Linked DNA regions of Homo sapiens: all the other regions are linked to region 2. The links are contacts of gene promoters, found by promoter capture Hi-C in human tissues and cell types (Jung and others, 2019). All regions are on one chromosome and are shown on one strand. The core of a region is centred on a gene start or on the middle of the fragment in contact, and the rest is flanking DNA. Distances in the headings are between cores, read along the strand shown.

Evidence for each region. The method cuts DNA at HindIII sites, captures the fragments that hold promoters and counts their contacts. A contact is called where the count stands out against the background at its distance.
Region 1: a fragment that was not itself captured here is called in contact with the fragment with the promoter of MFNG in region 2 in 2 of the 25 tissues and cell types used here (lymphoblastoid cells and mesendoderm cells).
Region 3: the fragment with the promoter of GCAT here is called in contact with the fragment with the promoter of MFNG in region 2 in 2 of the 25 tissues and cell types used here (aorta and thymus).
Region 4: a fragment that was not itself captured here is called in contact with the fragment with the promoter of MFNG in region 2 in 4 of the 25 tissues and cell types used here (dorsolateral prefrontal cortex, lymphoblastoid cells, mesenchymal stem cells and 1 more).

What each region holds. Positions count from the first base shown.
Region 1 is chr22:37,177,322-37,180,021 of GRCh38, forward strand. The region is part of intron 1 of IL2RB-AS1 (IL2RB and C1QTNF6 antisense RNA 1); the gene reads left to right. Among named protein-coding and RNA genes, the nearest start is that of C1QTNF6, 9.6 kb to the right of the region's middle. RefSeq lists an enhancer at 2,305-2,700. The HindIII fragment of the contact is 3,359 bases long and covers 1-2,700 here.
Region 2 is chr22:37,484,984-37,487,683 of GRCh38, forward strand. It overlaps MFNG (MFNG O-fucosylpeptide 3-beta-N-acetylglucosaminyltransferase), which reads right to left and starts at 1,401. Exons shown (of 8, transcript NM_002405.4): 1 at 940-1,401. The coding sequence starts at 1,194. RefSeq lists enhancers at 286-345, 746-795, 1,272-1,781, 1,782-2,293, 2,294-2,700 and a silencer at 1,366-1,495. The HindIII fragment of the contact is 15,221 bases long and covers 1-2,700 here.
Region 3 is chr22:37,806,633-37,809,345 of GRCh38, forward strand. GCAT (glycine C-acetyltransferase) reads left to right here and starts at 1,302. Exons shown (of 9, transcript NM_014291.4): 1 at 1,302-1,531. The coding sequence starts at 1,336. It overlaps H1-0 (H1.0 linker histone), which reads left to right. Exons shown (of 1, transcript NM_005318.4): 1 at 1-800. RefSeq lists a silencer at 1,117-1,406. The HindIII fragment of the contact is 28,064 bases long and covers 1-2,713 here.
Region 4 is chr22:37,155,867-37,158,566 of GRCh38, forward strand. It overlaps a transcript of IL2RB not described here. Among named protein-coding and RNA genes, the nearest start is that of IL2RB, 7.3 kb to the left of the region's middle. The HindIII fragment of the contact is 5,288 bases long and covers 1-2,700 here.

The DNA.
Region 1 (2,700 bases), core at 173-2,672, 310 kb before region 2:
AGTCCTCCAGCCAAACAAGGGACTCTCCTGGGCAGAGCTGCCACAGGAGCCCACCTCCTGGCACCCCGGCCTGCTGGCTTCCCACTGGCTAACGAAAGCCTTGTGGGAGAAACACCCTGGTAGACCCTTAATCCAAGCTGGACCCCGTCCCCCCAACAACCCCCAGCTGCCCTCCTGCCTCCTCTCTGCTGTTGAATCTCTCACCAACTTCAAAGTCAATTGGGGACATGCCTCCCCCTCCAGGATGACATCATGATTCACCCAGTTTCTAGGCGTTCTATGTCCTCCCCTGGACCATGGCACAGGCCCCCTCACTGCCTCCAGCTTCACCCTCTGCAGCCTGTGCTCCACCTGGCTGCAGAGTGATCTGCCTCTTAAAGGCACCCCAGCACCTAAGAAAGAGGTCAATCCTAGACTTAGCCTGACATTCCAGGCCTTTCCTGTCTCAAACCCCATTCTGCTCTCCTTGCCTCCTTTCCAGACATCTATCCAACCTACTGGTCTCTCCCACTGCCCAGAGCATAGACTACATTGGTCCGCCTGCAACCCTTTCCTCTCATCAGCTCCTTGCCCCATGTCAAGTGCCTTTGAGACTCCTATTCACCCTCCAAGGCCCTTCCCACATGTCCCCTCCACTAAGAAGCCTTCCCAGATCGCCACATAAGAATTATCTACTCCCTTCCCCACACTCCCATGTGGCAGAGGAGCTCCTGCGCTCATCTCCCCAGGAAGGCTGAACACTTCCAGACACAACCTAACCTAGCCCATGAAATGGATCCAGCCCATCTATCCAGACAGCAGGTCACCAGGGACACCATCAAGCTAAAATCCCTGCACCAGCTCTGCCCCTGATTTTAACTCAGGCTCCCATCTAATCACCCTTTCCCCCTTAATCTTCCCTGCACTTGCCCCGGGCCACTCAACAAAACGATGGCAAGGTGGGGGTGAGGTCGCCCTGTCTGGGGTACACTCCTTGTCAGGGGTATTTTTCATTTCCCACGGCTGCTTCCCCTCTTGACCACCCTTTCCTTCCCCTTCCTCATTGCCTAACGTTTCAGGCGGAAAACGTTTTCAAAATATGTAACTTAAAGGGATTGCCCCAGAGGTGATTACATGGGCATTCAGCCAGCTTGCTGAGGTCATCAGTACTAAGCATGGCAGATCTCCTGGGGGACGCTGTGCCCCACAGACCTGGCAGCAGGATTGGGGGCCTCCAGTTTCCCAGGACCTTTGACCAACCCCCGCCAAGAACGTGCCCATTGGGAGAAGCTTGTCACAAAGATCTAGTGGCTCTTAGCACCCATCCGGGTGCCATTGAGTCAGAAACCCAGACCTAGCGCAAAAAAACCTGGCCTAGACAGTCCAGAGGCCACATCTGAGCCCTGGGTGGAGGAATGTGTGCAGTGGGTCAGATGGGATGACACAAAGACAGCCGGCCTCTGTTCCCTGAACTAATGTGGCCTGGAACTGTCTGGGGGACTTGGCTTCAGTTTACAAAGGATAAGCTTCAATCCTCCTGCAGGCACTTGGCAAGAAGTTTCAAAGCTTTGCTGCCTCAGCGATCAGCAAATGGCTCATCCTTGTGCTGTACACGACAAAAGGCTCCTGGCTGGCACTCAGGACAGCCTTTGTCCCAAGGCTGGTGAGGCCGATTGTGTACAAATAGAGCCTGGCCCAGAAACACGCTGGAGATCGCTCCCCGGGGTAGCCTCTGACATGGGAGGAGCCTCTTTGGCAAGAGCTGTATGACCCTGAGGTGCAGTGGGAAGCCTCCCTTCAGTGTCAGGGGACCTCCGAGGAAACGGAGACCTGTCTGCCCCTGCAAGGTGGGCTGCTGGGCTGGGCTGAATCCTGGCACAGGTGTATGGTCAGTTCTCGATAGCATGCTTCTTCCACCTGGTGCCCAAAAGCCATGCAACACACCAGGGACAACACAGATAGAGCAGGATGCCCGGTCAAGTCTGTTGGGAAATCAGCGTCGGTCACTTTAAATATACTTATGTGAGTAGCCACCAGGCTAGCCTAGAGAGTCCAAACTTGACGACATATTAGAAAGCCAGGCCGGGCACGGTGGCTCACGCCTGTAATCCCGGCACTTTGTGAGGCCGAGGTGGGCAGATCACAAGGTCAGGAGTTCAAGACCAGCCTGGCCAACATGGTGAAACCCCCATCTCTACTAAAAATACAAAAATTAGCTGGGCGTGGTGGTGGGCGCCTGTAATCCCAGCTACTCGGGAGGCTGAGGCAAGAGAATCACTTGAACCTGGGAGGTAGCGGTTGCAGAGAGCCAAGATTGCGCCACTGTACTCCAACCTGGGTGACAGAGAGACTCCATCTCAAAAAAAAAAGAAAGCCAGATCCATCAAGATGCTCCACTGTACAATGTAGTAGTGTGTGTTTTCCCACAGAGAAGATCCAACAGTTCTCTCATCATAATTAAACGCAAAACATGCGACAGGGTCCCCGGGGCGGGAGGTGGGGGGGCTTGCGTGTGCCTCACTGGAGCATAAACGGCACAGGTGCTCAGCTCTGCGCCACACAGTTGGCGCTCAGCAGATGCTGAGCATGAACGCGGCACTCATCAAGCAACCTGGCATCTGATCCTTATGTCCACCGCATGAGGTAGATTACCATTGTCCCCATTTTACAGACAGGAAACCGAGGCGCAGAGATATGGGGACTTGCCCGAGGTCACAACCA
Region 2 (2,700 bases), core at 151-2,650:
TGTGTGTGTGTGTGTACCCATTCTCCACCTCCCCCATCAACGGTCCCTAACACCGACATCACTAACTTTGCTTAAGGAAGATACTGGATGCGAGGAGGGAAAGGGCTGGAAGGGACTTGGCTCGCCGGAGCCGCACAGCCATGTGACAGACATGCCTCTTGTCACACACATCTAGCACACTCCAGCTCCGTGCGTGTGAGCACACACACACACACACACACAATCCCACGTGCCAGGCAGGCCTCCCCAACCTCCGGCCCACCACTGCCTCAGCCGCCACCCTCGTGGCATGCGCTCTCCTTCCCTCCCTCGGAAGCAGTCCGCAGGAAGCCAACACAGGAGGCCAGACATGGCGGCCTCGGCACACCCGGGGCAGCAGAGACACAGCGGCAGGGGCTATCGGGAAGGCCGAAGGGATGCCTCCCCCAAGAACAGACCCCACCATTCTCCTCCCGTCCTCCACCCTCAGAGCCCGGGCAGGACAGCACCTAGGGCCTGGGTGGGACAGCCTGGCCTGGGCACGGGTCTGGGTCAGGACCTCTTGGAGGCCTCCACCCCAGCTGCCCAACACCCACCATTACCCCTGATGCCAGGCTGGGCCTGGGTGGCTAGGAGCGAAGCCCCCACGGGAGCGGCTAGGAATAGAAGAACCCCCAGGAGGGACCCGGGAGCCTGGAGCAGGGGCCCAGCCTGGCCCCCAAAAGTGGTGGAGCGGTAGGACCTGGGTGCACCTGGAGTCAGGACCAGTACAGGGCACGGGCAGGGCCGCAGGCAGCCCCTAAAGCCCGGAAGAAGGAGAGAGGAAGAGGATCCCTGATTAGGCAGGTATTGAGCAGCTTCTCCCATGAGGCAGTCAGGGACCCCAGCCCAGTAGAAAGGCCTCTGAGAACCCCTTAGGCCAGGGGCCACCCCCAGGGCCCAATGTCACCCACTTGTCACCTGTTCCCTGGTCCTGGAAACCCACGTGTCAAGCAGCAGCTCCAGGCGCAAGCGGTGGAAAGCCCGGGTCGTCTTCACTGCAATGAAGACATCGTGTAGCTGTAGCTTAGGGGGCCCCGGGTTCGGCTGGCTCAGCTCGGGGGTCCCTTGTACCCGCTGCGGGGACAGGTTCAAGTGGTACCGCAGACACAGGAGCCCCATGCACAGGAGGGTGAGGAGGGCTCCAGCCAGGCCCCGCGGGAGCCGGCACTGCATTGGTTGGCCCTGGGACCCCAGACAGCTCAGCCCCCAAATCCCAACCAGACAGGGAGGGGAAGCTGGTCAGGCAGGGGCTCCAGCAGAGGCAAAAGTCTGGCAGGCATCAGGGGCTGGCAAGGAGGGAAGAGGTAGGAGCTGAGGCTCTGGACCCAGAGGCTGAGCCATGGCAGCACGATCTCGACCGCCGCCAGTCCTCCACCTGCTCCCGCTGTCCGGCCTGCCGCAGCCTCCGGGACCGCCTGGCCCCGCCCCGCTTAGCCCGAGGGGCGGGGCCAGACGAAGGGAACCCCAGACAGAGGCGGCTGAAAGGAGGCACCAGCAGAAAGGGCAGCCCCGGCTCTGCCAGCTGCTGCGGTGGGAGGAAGTCACAACAAACCCTCCGTGCCCGGTGGAAGGGAGTGTCCTCCAGCACCGTCCACTCCCCCAGAGAGCTGTCAGCTCGGCCCATTCAACACCCATTACTTTGGTGTCCTGCTTCACCCAGCCCCCAGCTTTTGCTCACAGGTTTCCTCCGGGATGCTCTCCCATATTCCACCAGCCTCACCCACATTCCCTCCACTAGGCTGAGTTCTATCTGGACTTCAAAGCTTAAGGGTTCCCTCCTCCAGGAAGCCTTCCGTGATAACCTCTTAACCTCTGGGGCTCCCACAGTTGTTCGCTCAGTTCCTGAGGTCTTCACAACAGCACTGGGACTGTCGTTCCCAGTTTATAGCTGAAGACATAAGGCACAAAGGCACAGAATGAGCAAAAACGATCCAGCAACTCAGCCGCAGAGCTGGCAGAACCCAGGTCTCTGTTCCTCATCTAGTTCACAGGAGGTCCCCTGAGGGCACCTGTCCAGCTGTGCCCCAGCCCATACCCGACCTCACTCCGCAGTCTCTGGAGCTGCCTCTCTCCCAGCACCTGACCAGTGGACAGACAGAGGGCCTTCTCCAGCCACCACCTCCATCTTGTTTCGCACAAGCTCACTCACACCTCCTCCCTCCTCCACTCAGAGCCTGCACTGGCTCCCATTTTCTTCAGAACAAAAGCCAAAACGCACACAGCAGCCCACAAGGCCCTGCGTGAGCTGGCTCCCAAGTTACTCCCACCCCATCTCCTGCTACTCACCCTGCTCCACTCCAGAACCTGGGACCCTCGCTGGCCCAGGCACCTGGCCGCCACAGGACCTTGGCACTTGCTGTTCCCACCTGGGCCCCTCCCTAGAGACCTGCACGTCTCACTCCCCCACTCCCTTCTGGTCTTTACACAAAGGTCACCGTCTCTGTGAGGCCTTCCCTGACCACGTTATTAACATTGCAACCCCTCGCCGCCTCCTTCCCAGCCCCCCAGGCCTGTCCCTCTCAAGCCACTTCACTGTTTTCTTCATCACACTTTTCATCTTCCAACATTCTGTATGTTTAACTAAGTTTCTGTCCTCCTCATGAGAATATCAGGGCAGGATTTATTTTTTGATCACTGAGTCCCTAATCCCCAGTGCCTAGAACAGTGACCGGCAGACAA
Region 3 (2,713 bases), core at 52-2,551, 320 kb after region 2:
GGGGGAAAAAAACCGCCACCGGGCTGACTTCCACCTCCCAGTGGTGAGCAGTGGGGGCCCAAACCCAGTTTCCTTCTCATTTTTGTTAGTTTGCGCTTTCGGCCTCCCTATTTTCTTAGGGAAGGGGAGTGGGGTCCAAGTGACAGCTGGATGGGAGAAGCCATAGTTTCTCCCAGTCAGCTAGGATGTAGCCATTGGGGGATCTTTGTGGCTTCAGCAAATTCTCTTGTTAAACCGGAGTGAAAACTTCAGGGGAAGGGTGGGGAGTCAGCCAAGTGCCTCAGTGTGCCCTGTTGAAACTTAGGTTTTTCCACGCAATCGATGGATTGTGTCCTAGGAAGACTTTTCTTTTCCTCTGGATTTTTGTTCCTCCTGTACAAGAGGTGTCTTTGCTTGGTTTGGTGGGGCTGCGGCCACTTAAAACCTCCCGATCTCTTTTTGAGTCCTTTATTATAAGTAGTTGTAGCTGCGGGAGGGGGAGGGGGAGTGGGCGGGCAGTGGATAGTAAGACTTACTGCAGTCGATTTGGGATTTGCTAAGTAGTTTTACAGAGCTAGATCTGTGTGCATGTGTGTGTTTGTGTATATATACATATCTAGGGCTAGTACTTAGTTTCACACCCGGGAGCTGGGAGAAAAAACCTGTACAGTTGTCTTTCTCTTATTTTTAATAAAATAGAAAAATCGCGCACTTGCGCGTCCCCCCCCCACCCCCTTTTTTAAACAAGTGTTACTTGTGCCGGGAAAATTTTGCTGTCTTTGTAATTTTAAAACTTTAAAATAAATTGGAAAAGGGAGAAACTGAGCGGTGTATTTTTCCTCACTTTGAAGACTGGAGAATGAATGCGGAGCGGTTAGGCGGGCAGGCAGTGGGGACATCTGGGGCGTTTGCACCTGAGAATGGCGGGGGAGGGTTCAGGAGCTGGACAGAAGCCAGGAATCCTTAGTCCCGGAGGCTGCGGAACGTGCCTTAGCCGGCTTCTAGGCTTCTGCCTTTGGGGTCCAGAGGGTACCCCATTTCCGGCCGAGAGGTGAGTACGTGGGAATGCGGTGGGGAGTCTGGTGGGCTTGGCCCTGACGCGACTTCCTCCGCCCCCTTCCCTCCCCTCTGCCATCCGGACTTCGGCAGTCTCAACTTACAAGTCAAGCCTCTCGGTCCCTGGCGGATCCCGCCAGGCCCCGCCCACCCGTCCTAGGCCCGCCTCCCCGCCTTTTTAAGCGAGCCCCCCTAGCTCCGATTGGCTGCTGGAGCCCGGCCCCCGGCCACGCGACCAGGCTGCGTCCGCGATGCGCACGGCTCCCAGGCAGGCAGGCGCGCTCGGGCGAGGTAGGAGCGATGTGGCCTGGGAACGCCTGGCGCGCCGCACTCTTCTGGGTGCCCCGCGGCCGCCGCGCACAGTCAGCGCTGGCCCAGCTGCGTGGCATTCTGGAGGGGGAGCTGGAAGGCATCCGCGGAGCTGGCACTTGGAAGAGTGAGCGGGTCATCACGTCCCGTCAGGGGCCGCACATCCGCGTGGACGGCGTCTCCGGAGGTAACGCTCCGTTCCGGGAGTCGTTCCAAGACCTTTCCCGAGCTTGCGCTGGAATGGAGGTCCTGGAGGTGGGGGTGGGCGGCTCCTACACTCTTAGCTACTGTTCCCCTTCGCATCTCTCAGGGCGACTTTATGGCTTCCTAATATTGACTCTTGCCTGGTTAAACCCTTTTGACGGAGGGAGGCGATTTGCCCAGCAAGAAAACCCGCATTTCTTGAGCGGCTCCTTTGTGAAGGTCTCTACCAATTGTTGCTGCACGTGAACTCCTGCTAACTTCTAGACGCAGGAATGACTAATTCCACTTTACAAACGAAGAGGCTGAAATCCACAGATGTGAAATGGCTTGCCCAAAAGCCCCCAGCTAGCTGCAGGCAGCGCTGGAATATTGGAGCTGGAACATTGCCTGACTGGCCAGAGAGGACAGCTTGCTGGGTAAACTCATAGCAAGCAAGGGGTCCCAGGGCTGCCACAGAAATCACATGATGAGTTGGCCCTGCCAGGTCTCCCTCATTTCTTTCTTTCCTTTTTTTTTTCTGAGATGGAGTCTCGTCTTGCTCTGTCGCCCAGGCTGGAGTGCAGTGGCGAGATCTCGGTTCACTGCAACCTCTGCCTCCCGGGTTCAAGCGATTTTCATGCCTCAGCCTCCCAAGTAGCTGGGACTACAGGCACGTGCCAGCACACCCGGCTAATTTTTGTATTTTTAGTGGAGACTGGGTTTCACCATGTTGGCCAGGCTGGTCTCGAACTCCTGACCTCAAGTGATCCTCCCGCCTCAGCCTCCCAAAGTGTTGGGATTACAGGCGTGAGCCACCACTCCCAGCCCTCCCTCATTTCACTCTAACCAGTGGTTACACCTGACTTATTCGTGTCAGGCCTCAGGTGAGTGGTAATCATCAACAAGCTCCCAAAGCTGCCTTCTGCCCAGGAAATAGGCATAGAACCCTTGGTGCTGTTGCACTCATTTGTAAAACAGAGGTCCCAGGTAATCCCTTCTCTCCCTCAGGGGAAGCTTAGAGCCGGTCAAAAGATGGGAAATTAGGAGACCCAAGTTCTCATCCTGTTTTTGCCTTTCCCAGGCTGTGTGAACTTTCCCCTCTGGCTGTTTGCTCCTAAGGTCAGCTGTGTTCACTCTGGGCTTTAGAATTCGGGGACTGGTATCTCAGGCACCTACCTTTGGGGGT
Region 4 (2,700 bases), core at 201-2,700, 330 kb before region 2:
CCGCCTCATACCCTCTGTTTCCATGCACCCAGTCCCACAGCCCTCCCACCACTGGACCCAGACCCCTCTTTCACAGGGGCCATGGGACAAGGGCATATTGGGGTCTTCCAGCCCTGATGTCCTTGGGCTGTCTTTTTTGGGGCCAAGCCAGACTGCATCCTCCTCAGTCCTGGTATCTGCCAAACGCCCTACCCGTCCTCCCTCTGCTCACTGGAGTGCTTGGCCCTTGCGCTCAGCCTCCCTCTCCACTCCGCCTCCCAGGAGATGTCAGGGTCCACACTGTAGCCTCCAGCCTCCTGTTCCCTCTGAACTGCTCCATACCAGTCCCACACCCAGGCCTGCACTTGCACCCTGCCATCATTCTGACCTGTGTTAACCAAGACCCCTTGAACTTCCACCTCAGCTCACCCGCGTGCTGCCATCACCGCCTCCACTGTACAACAGTGTCCCAGTTAGGATGAAGTTCAGCTGCGTGTGTCCAAAGAGAACAGAAGAAGAAAACAGTGACCTAAAATAAGAGAGGGCTTTATTTCTCTCTTACATAAAAGAAGTCCAAAGGGAGGCCACCCAGGCTAGGTGGGGTGGCTTTATGATGTCAGGATCCTGAGCTAAATCTGGCTTGCTACTAGGGTCTCTTCAATATCCTTCTCCCATCTCCTCATAGACCAAGAGAGCTATTCAAGCTCCACCCATCACCTCTGCGTTCCTGCAGATGGAAGGGAAAGGAAGGAGAGAGGGAGGGCTTGCCTCTGCCTGTTAAGGACCCTTCCCCAAAGCTGCCGTAGCCACTTCTAATGTACATCCCATTGGCTACGCCTGAGTCACATAGCCAACCAAGCTGCAGAGGAGGCTGGGAGATGTAGCCAGCTATAAGTAGAGGGCACACGGGCAGGGGAGAGCAGGTTTGGGGGTGCCATTCACTGTCTCTGCCACCGCCTGTCCTCTGCCATTGTGAAGACCTCCAGTATCTCCAGGGCCACCTCCCTTCCTGCCCTCCCTGGCTCAGCCAGCTGACACTGTCACCCACCCTCAAGTCCTTGTGTTCCGCCCACCCCTGCTCGGTGCTGTGACCTGTCTTCTGGAAAGTCAGCAGGTAGCCGAGTCCCCAGCTGGAAAAAAAGTCCTGCCCCCACAGTGCCAGGCCTCACCAGTGACCTGGTTTTGAGTCCTGGTCCCTGGTCAGGAGGACTATGGTATACATAATTTGGTGTCTGACCCTCCGCCCAGTCCCCATCAGACTGTGGGGTACCCCTCATGACAAATGAGGATCACAAAGCTGCAGGGGCCCACAGAGGGGCCAGAGCAGAACAAGGAGAAAGAGCAGGCTAGCGGCCGACTTCCTGAGGGCTGTCCTCCGAGCATGCCCCTCTGCTGACACCTGCTCTTCACTGGAGGCGCCCCACCCACCAGTCCCCAAGACAGACTGTGGCCATTCTCCCTGACTCCTTCCCTCCCTCACCCCCTCCTTCCAAGCCATCACCCTTACTTCTGCTTTGCCACAGCAGCCACCTCCACGCCAGCCCCCCAGGCTCCAGACCTGAAGCCCCACGTTCTTCCCTGTTCATCCGGGAGCTGCCTGCTTCATAGCCACACCAGCACCAGCGCCCTGAGCAGCTCCTATCTTGTGCAAACCATGCCATTCCTTACCAGGATCGCGCCAAGGTGACCAGCTGTCCCACTGTGCCTGGGACTGAGGGGGGTTTCCAGAACATAAGATTTACAGTGATATTCCTAGGACAAAGTTGGTCACCATATTCCCACCCTACTTACTCAGACTAATCAGCTCCCCGATTTAAAACCAGTCCTTCCCTGATCTCCAATTCTGGCCAAGGCAGATTCTGGGCACAAGCCAGTTACCATATCTCATGTCAGAGCCTTGCTTATGAGTCTACACCAGGAGCTCTTGGACAACAGGAACAGTGTGGGATTCATCCACACCACTCCAGAACCCAGAAAATTACCTGACATACGGACAGTGTCAATATGAGGGGAAGGAAGGAAAAAAGGAAAAGAGAAAGAATCAAAAGTGCTAAGTCCCTAATACCCTGAAGAGTCCTGAGAATACACATTAAAAACACCAGGATAGCATATTTGAAGTTTCAAAAGCTTTGCCATCAAAGGCAGGTTGAAAAGGCGAGTCACCCTGCTGGCGTGGGCTTCAAGCATCTCCCTGGAAGGCAATCTGACATCTACCAACATCTCTGACACATGACCCAGCAATTCCACACCTAAAACTCATCAACAGAGTGACCCATGTTGAACACGTGTGTACAAAGTAACTCCTGCAGTCACGGGACCCGAGGCCAACAAAATGCGCATCCATAGGGGACAGGTGATGAGCAAATTAGGGAACTTCCATCCAGTGGAATGCCACGTAGCTATGCCAAGATAGGAAGGGGAGGGCTGGGCGCGGTGGCTTATGTCTGTAATCCCAGCACTTTGGCAGGCTGAGGCGGGCGGATCACGAGGTCAGGAGATCGAGACCAGCCTGGCCAACATGGCAAAACCACGTCTCTACCAAAAATAAAAATTAAAAAAAAATTAGCCGGGCGTGGTGGTGGGCACCCCGTAGTCCCAGCTATTCAGGAGGCTGAGGCAGAAGAATCACTTGAACCCGGGAGGCAGAGGTTGCAGTGAGCCAAGATTGCGCAACCGCACTCGAGCCTGGGTGACTGAGCAAGACTCCGTCTAAAAAAAATA